Linked DNA regions of Homo sapiens: regions 1 and 2 are each linked to region 3. The links are contacts of gene promoters, found by promoter capture Hi-C in human tissues and cell types (Jung and others, 2019). All regions are on one chromosome and are shown on one strand. Each heading gives the region's core, a stretch centred on a gene start or on the middle of the fragment in contact. The rest is flanking DNA. Distances are from core to core; before and after follow the strand shown. Region 1 overlaps SEMA3A (semaphorin 3A). Region 2 has its middle 84 kb from the start of SEMA3E. Region 3 holds the start of SEMA3D (semaphorin 3D).

What was found. Contacts are between HindIII fragments. The study calls those that stand out against the background at their distance.
Region 1: a contact is called between a fragment that was not itself captured here and the fragment with the promoter of SEMA3D in region 3, in 1 of the 25 tissues and cell types used here (spleen).
Region 2: a contact is called between a fragment that was not itself captured here and the fragment with the promoter of SEMA3D in region 3, in 1 of the 25 tissues and cell types used here (H1 embryonic stem cells).

Annotation. Positions count from the first base shown.
Region 1 is chr7:84,184,003-84,186,970 of GRCh38, forward strand. The region is part of intron 1 of SEMA3A (semaphorin 3A); the gene reads right to left. Among named protein-coding and RNA genes, the nearest start is that of SEMA3A, 9.3 kb to the right of the region's middle. The HindIII fragment of the contact is 8,232 bases long and covers 1-2,968 here.
Region 2 is chr7:83,731,988-83,734,932 of GRCh38, forward strand. No RefSeq gene overlaps it. Among named protein-coding and RNA genes, the nearest start is that of SEMA3E, 84 kb to the left of the region's middle. The HindIII fragment of the contact is 6,001 bases long and covers 1-2,945 here.
Region 3 is chr7:85,185,633-85,188,332 of GRCh38, forward strand. SEMA3D (semaphorin 3D) reads right to left here and starts at 1,424. Exons shown (of 19, transcript NM_001384900.1): 1 at 1,046-1,424. RefSeq lists a silencer at 1,236-1,295. The HindIII fragment of the contact is 9,968 bases long and covers 1-2,700 here.

The sequences.
Region 1 (2,968 bases), core at 361-2,860, 1.0 Mb before region 3:
ATCAATGTGCTGATGTTTATATAGTTGTGAACAGAAGTATTGTCACAGAGGAGATAGTTTTTCCCTACTTGACAGCTAAAGAGAAAGGCCAGTCAGATAAGTATTAATTTAGGTCTGATGAACCACAAATGGGCAAAGCAGACATTGATCTGCCTTGCTAAGTAATTTCACAGGCGTCAGAACGTTTTTTTTAAAAAAATCATTTAGTCTCATTTTGTTATGTTAGATCTTAAATAGTTGTCTGGAAGAAGGGCTTAAATGACAGAAAAGATGTCTGTATATTAGAATGTGCAAAGGAAACCGTAATCCTGTACTGACTAGGCACCTTGGGAAGTAAAAGAAGTCTGAGACTCTATTGAACACGGGGATCATGTGGTGAAAGTAAGAAACTCTGTAGCTCTGGGCCAGTGCGGGAGAGCCTAGCTTGAGATTGATCTGCTAAAAACAAAAGGTTTCATTTTTGAGGGTTGGAAAGTTTTCCCATATCCCAAAACGAGAATTAACAGGATTTTGTTTTTGAAAGGATAGCATTAAATGAGATTTATTTGGAGAAGTCAAAAGATATAGACTGAAGTACTACCAGGTAAAAAGGTGGGGGTATGGGTAAGGGGAGAAATCCTTTTTTTTTTTGCAATATACTTCAAACCTGGAAAGATAGAAGGCAATTATATTGGGGGAATCTGTGTGCTGATCAGACCCTGCACCCAGCATAACTTTCACTCTGGAGCTTGAAGAAACAGAATAGAAACATTACGTGCATGCCTTTAGAGGCAAGACAAGTACTAAGGTCCAGAGCCAATATAATGAGGAGGCTTAGTGGAAGGGTGGCAGAAAGGAGACTCTTGGTAACTTTTTAAAGTACCAGTGCCCAGAAGAGAGCAGAGAACTTGGTTAGACAGCAACATTGAACAATGGAACGTGCCCTGGGAAGGTCAACCACAAATGACAGATCACAGCCAATCATGAACTGCTTAAGACCTGACACAAAGCAAAGGGAGAGACTGTCTCTCAAGACCTGTGTCCAAATCCTTTATTCTTGTGCTCTAATAACTGGTGTTTTAATTTCAGTAATTCCCAATTAAATGTAAAAAAATTAGAAAAATAACGGTATATGACTTTTCTTGTACTTGAGTATTGTGGATATACACAACACACACATACTAAATATAAACCCATGAATTTATGTATTTCTTTATCTATATACAATTCTTCAAAGTACAAGGAATTATACCATTTTGAACAAAATTCCAGAAGTGACTTTTTTCTGTGTTGCCGGGTACCATGAACCTACAACGTTGTCTAATATATATTATCAAATATTTCCAGACTTGTTGTGAAGACTTTATTCACAACTTGCTGTTGAATTAAAGAAATAATAAGGGGCTGGGTGTGGGTGTGGTGACTCATGCCTGTAATCCCAGCACTTTGGGAGGCCAAGGTGGGCAGATCATCTGAGGTCAGGAGTTCGAGACCAGCCTGGACAACATAGTGAAACACCATCTCTACTAAAAAAATTTAAAAAATAAAAAAAATAAAAAATTAGCCAGGCATGGTGATACATGCCCATAATCCCAGCTACTCAGGAGTCTGAGGCAAGAGAATCACTTAAACCTGGGAGGTGGAGGTTACAGTGAGCAGAGATCACGCCATTGCACTCCAGCCTGGGTGACAAGAGAGAAACTCTGGCAGGAAAAAAAAAAAAAAAAAAAAAGGAAAGAAATAATGAGTTAATTCTAAAAACATGAAGAAACCATCATTATAAATCATTTTATGTTATAGTTTTAAAAACTGATAATAAAAGTGTTTTCTACATCAGATAACCAAAATCAACGTCCTTTTCTTTTTTCCTTTGGTAAGAAATAACCCTGCTTCTGTATTTTGTAGATAAATTCCAAAAAAGAAATAGAGAAGCCCAACTGACTGACCACTCTAGAAGGTCCTCACAAGTAGGTGTCACTTGTCCCTCCTGATCTCACTGTCAGTCAAATATAGACAACCACGTATCAACTCTACTCTATGAAGTTCCTAGCCTGCTATGCTGCAGCTCTAAGTCATATAAATTATTCTAAATATATTGCTGTTTTCCTAAAAAGAAAATCAAATCCAAAGAAATAGTTTCTGATACAGTAGTCACCACTCTTCTCTACTTTTACCTTCTCATATTTGTCCTATCATTCAAGGCCCACCTTCTTTGGGTCCTAGTTTAAAAAGCCACCCTAAAATCTTTAGGTAGATGTGACATCACCTTTCTCAAAAATTCTACAATATTCACTTTATTTATCCAAGAATCTATTCATAAAGAAATCTGACAGATGAGTTATGTGGCTTTATGTGTCTATTTTATACATAGAACGCAAGTAAGAAATAGTTAATAATGGTGCTTTTGTAAATAAAGTTTGCAGAACTTATGAAAACGTACTTTCATTTAAGCTAGTTCTTAAGGGATAATAACAACGGAACAGCATTTATTCTCTTGAAATTCAAAGTTGAAGGTTAAAAGAAAACAAAATTTCTGACCCATATTATGAAGATTCATAAGCACTTTGACAGCTTGATTTGACCTCAGGTGTAAACAACTTTGTTTTAGCTATGCCCAAATACATTTCTAAGAGTTTGGATTACACTTGGATTACACAATCATTTTTCAATACCACTTAATAACTATGATTTGTACATAATAACAATGCTGCTAGTAGTTGTCCCATTGTCCTTTCCTGGCAATATTTCTACCATGTCACAATAACTACATATTTAAAAAAAAAAAAAGAATTTTCCAACGAACATTGTAAGTTCATTTTATTCTAAATACCAATCTATAGATCTATATATAAGTGGCCTAAGGAAATTAGCCTACTATCCTCTCCCACCCTCTCAATCAGTATCTTAAACAAAGAATTCAACATATATTTTTCATGTTCACACTTTAGCAAATATTCCCATGGTATTTCCTATCACATCTACTCTCTTG
Region 2 (2,945 bases), core at 197-2,696, 1.5 Mb before region 3:
AACTGATCTCTGGGAATAGAGTCTGCCGCCATCCTTCCTGCATCAACCAGGGGTGCTCTTCTCAGGGGTAAGAGTTTCATTTTCTCCCAGTGATATATTCAACCCTAATTAAATCAATTTTCCTAACTTGCCCCTGAACCCCTGGACACTTATACCCTAGGGTTATTTTTTTTCTGGTAGAAAAGTCCTCAGGACTCCATTAGATTCCTGCACATTCTCTGGAGCTGCTGGATCTCAGAACCATCCTGCTGAAAAGTGTTCCTTTCTATTGCTCATCTAGCTATCTCATTGAACCAGAGACCCTAGACCTGACCTATGAGCCCTTCAACTGCCTCCCTCATATCTGGAAGTTCCCAAGCCAGGTTTCTCTGAGCATGGTTTCAGCCAACCGTTTTCTGCCATCAGCCTCTGCAAGATGTGGCTGGACGTCAGCGTCCTTAGGCTAGGGGAAGACCTCTTGCCTTTGCAGCATTGTTAGGGCCTCCTTTATTCCTGAACCCTGCAGAGAACTGATCTTCCTACTGTTTGAGTAACCACTGTTTTGTGGTATTTGTGTGGTTTTGGCAGCCTAGGGCTCAAAACTCAGTGTGCAAACAGCAGCTGGCAGCAGTCAGAGGGCCTGTTTGTTTCTCTCAGCTCTACCTTTTCTGAAGAACCCAAGAGAAGCAATTAGGCCATACTTGAAAGTGAAGCCCTACAAAGAGTCTGCTCTCATAACTTGTCTCTACTCTGCCTTGAACCTCCCAAGAGAATATTACTGCTCCAGCCTCCTTGCCAGGCGCTGCTGGTGGAAATAGAAAACTAAAACTCAACCATTCTGTGTCCAGCAATATCTTGCCCTTACTGTGTCTTTGCAGAGGGCTTCCCTTTTGTTACACCCTGATTCTTGTAAATAGCATATATGGCTAGGTGTCAAGAGAGTTTCATTTGTTTCTTTATCTTGCTCATAATCTACAGAAGGAGGTAGGTTTGCAGTACATTACTTCTTTCAATTTTGAGCTAAATTCAGTATTTCTTACTCTACGGGTAATGCAAAGTAGTAATCTACATGCCAGTACTACCCCTTACCTAACCTTCCTCCAAACTCCATCCAGGTTAGTCAGCTTTTTTTTTTTTTCTTTTTTTAAACAAGGGGAAATTCTGGAGAAAGTCATCCTTGTTGGTAAAGCAAAAAGATAATGTTTTTAATAGAAATGGGTGAAGCAAAGAATGTTTATTCATGCACAGATATGGCCTGATAAAATTTCTTTATAATATTCCTGCTCATGTCAAAGAGATCCAGTATCAAAAAAGGTAAAAGGACTACAACATTCAATTAATAAAATGCAGGCGGGCAAAGACAAGAGGTGGGGACCTTTAAGGAAAAGCACTAACAAGCTGCATGTGGTGACTCACACCTGTAATCCTAGCAGTCTGGGAGATTGAGGAGGAAGGATTGCTTGATACTAGGAGTTTGAGACCAGTCTGGGCAACATAGCAAGATCCCTGTTTCTAAAAAATATAAAAAAAATTAGCTGGGCCTTTTGGTGCATGAAGAAAGAAAGAAAGAAAGAGAGAAAGAGAGAAAGAGAGAATGAGAGAAAGAAAGAGAGAAAGAAAGAAAGAAAGAAAGAAAGAGAGAGAGAAAGGCAAAGCACTAACAAAAACCCAACTATATGAAGAAACATAGGCCATACTCTTGAAGGGATAATTAGTGTAGTTAATATTAATTCTCCCCATACTGATCTATAAATATGTGATGGAATTCTAATCAAAATCCTAATGGTATTTTTCACAGAAATTGACAGGTCGTTCTTAACTCCATATGCAGTATTAAAAGTCCAAAATTAGCTAATGCATTAGCAAAAGGAACAATGGTGGGAGAATACCATTCCAGATAACAAGGTTTAATATAGTGTTATAATAATTAAAACACTACAGATAAATAAAAGACAATACAGAACTCAGAAATACAAACATGAACATGAGGAAATTGAATATGGCAAAGGTGGCGTTCCAAATTAGAAGAAAAGCATAGATTGGTGTTAAAAGAATTGGCTATTCACATGGAAAAAATTAGATAATTATCACATACATAAATTTCAGATAGATTGAAAAATGTGAAAGGTAAAATTATATATTAAAAGCAAAACTTTAGAACTTCCAGAAAAAGTATAGAAACATTCTTACTGTAAGATAGGGAAGAATTTCTTTTTTAAAAAATTATTATTTTATTTATTTAATTTTACTTTTTTAAATTTTACTTTAAGTTCTGGAATACATGTGCAGAATGTGAGGGTTTTATACATAGGTATACATGTGCCACGGTGGTTTGCTGCACCTATCAACCCGTCATCTAGGTTGTAATCCCCCGTTTGCATTAAGTATTTTTCCTAATGCTCTCAATATAGGGAAGAATTTCTTAACATTCCAAAACACAAAACATTAAAAAATATATTTTAAAAAGACCCTTCAGTTCTACTAGTAAACCTAATTTTTGACTTCTTGAACTGATGGTCATTACATGGGTACGTTCACCTTGATATAATTTATTTGCACTTAAGATTTGTTCATTTTTAAAATATATACTTTAGTTGAAAGTTACATTTAAAAATCCTTGTTGACAAAAAAATTAATTAAAAAATTCAAAGCAAAGTCACATTCCTCAAGAAGCTATATTCGACATATTCAATTAATAAAAGCTTCAAAATGACATCAAAGAACTGCAAAAAATAAAAAATGTATATAAAAGTTGCTCCTGGAAATTATCGAATGGCCAATAAGCCTATAAAATGATATTTATTTTCAATAACAACTAGGTTAATACAAAATATAAAGCAGTTTCACTTCACATTTAAAACATTTGGGTAAAAATTACAATTGTTTACCACCAATTGTTAGTGAGCATAAGGAAAAATAGACAGAAAACTGCTATTTCTAGTCAACAACCATTGTTGTGAACATTT
Region 3 (2,700 bases), core at 174-2,673:
AGTCCCCTGGATCCCAAAGCTCCCTGCCACAGCGCGGCGTCTCCTCCTCCTGTCAACTTCCCTCCTTGCACTGTGACGGAGGCAAAGCAACTCAGCCCAGGAGGTTGAACTCGAGTCATCAGAGAAGGAGAAACAGTGCCGAAAACGGCCCGTGCGCTACCAGGGTAGCCCATTAACGCATTAACTCCAGGCTCGTTGGGCAGAAGCCGGGAGGAAACACCCTGGGGACCGCACTCCTGGTTAAATGCCCAGCACGAGTCAAATCCGGCCTTTCCAAAGCGAGCCAAGCCCACTACTACAAAGAGATCCCCCGAGTGTTTTGCCTTAACCACATTTCAGACAGCCAGCTTTGTGGCTGCTGTTTGACTCCAACTTTCCCTCTAAATCTAAAAGGATGCACACTTCCATCAGACGGAACGTCGCGATTCCCCGGCGAAGAAAAAGGCGTCGCCCATTCCTCTTCCAAAACGCTACAACAAAAACCACCACGCTTCCCTTCCTTCTTCCTTGCCCCTTTCCCTTCTCCCAGACCAACAAGGAAAGGAGCGAGCGAGGGCGCAGATGCCCTTTGGTCAAGTACTCCCCGGATGTTCCCGACTAAAGCGTCTCCAAATGAACCTGCAGCCTGCGGAAGCCGGGGACACATTCATAGACGCTCTCTGCTGCCCAGACCAGGAGGGGTGGTGGGGGAACCAGGAAGCCAGGGAGAGAGCAAAGTTCCTGGACGCGTCTCAGGAGGAAAACTTTGTGCAGTGCTGCCAGGCGGAGGCTCGTCAGAAGGCTCCGCAGCTGCTGAGGCGGGGTGGGACTGCGCCCCAGGGGCCGCGCTGAAGCTGGCGCCGCGATTACTGCGCACCGATTTCGCCCACTCTCTGTCCGCTCCCGGGAGCCTTCTCTGTCTCAGGACGGTTCCTTATCTCCCAAACCATGCTCGTCCTCCACTTCGGACCCACAGCCACCCCCAAATCCCGGCTATCCCCGCTTAGCACCGCGGTCTCCAGCACACCCTCCCACTGGAGTAGCAGGTGACCCAAACCAGACTTACCTGCTGTGAACTCTTCTCTCCCTCTCTCTTTTCCTGGTGCCTTTTCAGGGAGAGGGGAACGGGATGCAGGCTGAGGTCCAGCGGCGCGGCAACCCGGGGCACCGGCGCGCGTTCCTCTGAGCCGCAGCCCTGGCTGAGCAAGCGGAGCCGCCGGCAGCCCTGGCAGAGCCGGGAAGCTGCGGCCGCAGGGGCCAGGCCGGGAGGCAGGGGGCGCTGCTGCCTCCCCCGAGAGCCGCGCTAGGACAGGCGGAGAGCAAGGCACCAGCTGGAGCTTTGGGGAGGAGAGGGTGGCGAGGAAAGGCACGCTCCAAACAGGAGGGCGGCTTTTAAGTTTGTGGTGTGACCGCAGCAGCTGTCCTGGGAGAGACTCAGTCTTTCTAAAAAGAGGATGCTGAAAACGCCGGGGATTACCTTTCCCCTTCCGATCTCCTCCCCCAGCCCTCGCCCCCTCCTTCCACTGCGCACGCCAGAACTCCCAAGCGTGCAGAAGTTCATCCCTGCTGCGCGGAGGCTGCCAGCAGCGTGGATTTAGAGGTAGCCCTGGCCAAGCGCTGACGGATGTTTATCAGGACAGGGCACCCTATGTGTAAAGCAACCTCTAACGTCTGATCTTCCTTCTGGGTGACTTGGGGACTTCTTTAGTTCCTTCTCTATACCATAAAACCTGTTAAGGGACCCCATGAGGAAGAAACAGGGAGAGTGACCACAAACACCGTCCTAAAAATGCTAATCCCACAAAACAGTACCTGCGTTCCACTATGTAAAACCTCAATCCACGGTTAATGGCCTTGACAAGGCAGGCATAGGGATGAGGAACAGGGATCAACCCTCCGTTAAGGGGCTGGCACCCGATTAAGACCAAACAGGGAGAGATAAAAACGAGTAGAATGTAATCCTTTCTTCCTCTTTCCCTTACGCCAGACCTACAAAGAGGTGTGCCTCATATCCTTGTCTTCGGGAGTTTTTTAGATTTTTGCACCCCTTATTCACACAGTAGGAACTTAGAAGTATATAATGACGAGAAGATCTAAGTTTTGATGAACCTGGATCCTATGCAATTGGAATAGAGGATCCTCTTTAAGCAAAAGTAATGCAGAAATATCTCACTTCTACAGATTCTGCAAAAATATATGACAATGAGAGTTCATGAGGCCACCGTCAGGGACATTAAAAAGGCCTGTGCATTTGGTGAGCCCTGTACGTTAGGCATTTTTAGCTGCATGGTAAATCCTTTGTGATGGGATATCCAGGTTTATAGTCACACACCTTGCCCTTAGTCCCAAACATAAATCTGACATGAGGTAGAGACATGGAAAGCAAGCAGCCACGGGATCCTGCATTTGTCAGCTTGATTTAAGAGCACAAGGTGTAGGGTCCCAAAGCTTCCTTAGCAAGTAACAAGAGATATCTTGATTTGGAGATGGTGAACAGACAAATGCAGTAATGGAATAACTGAAAGGGGTGGAAGACATTCTTCATTTGACCTTTTATCTGTGGCAGAGGGCTGAGGGCCACAGAAGCTAAAGGAGTCATTTTAAGTTATAAATGGTTGATGGCAGAGTCAGGCTAAGGAAAGGCTCAGGTTTCTCAAATCTGACCAAGGCTCTTTCTTGTGTCTCATGCTGCCCCATCTCTATAACCTTGGTTTGGACTCA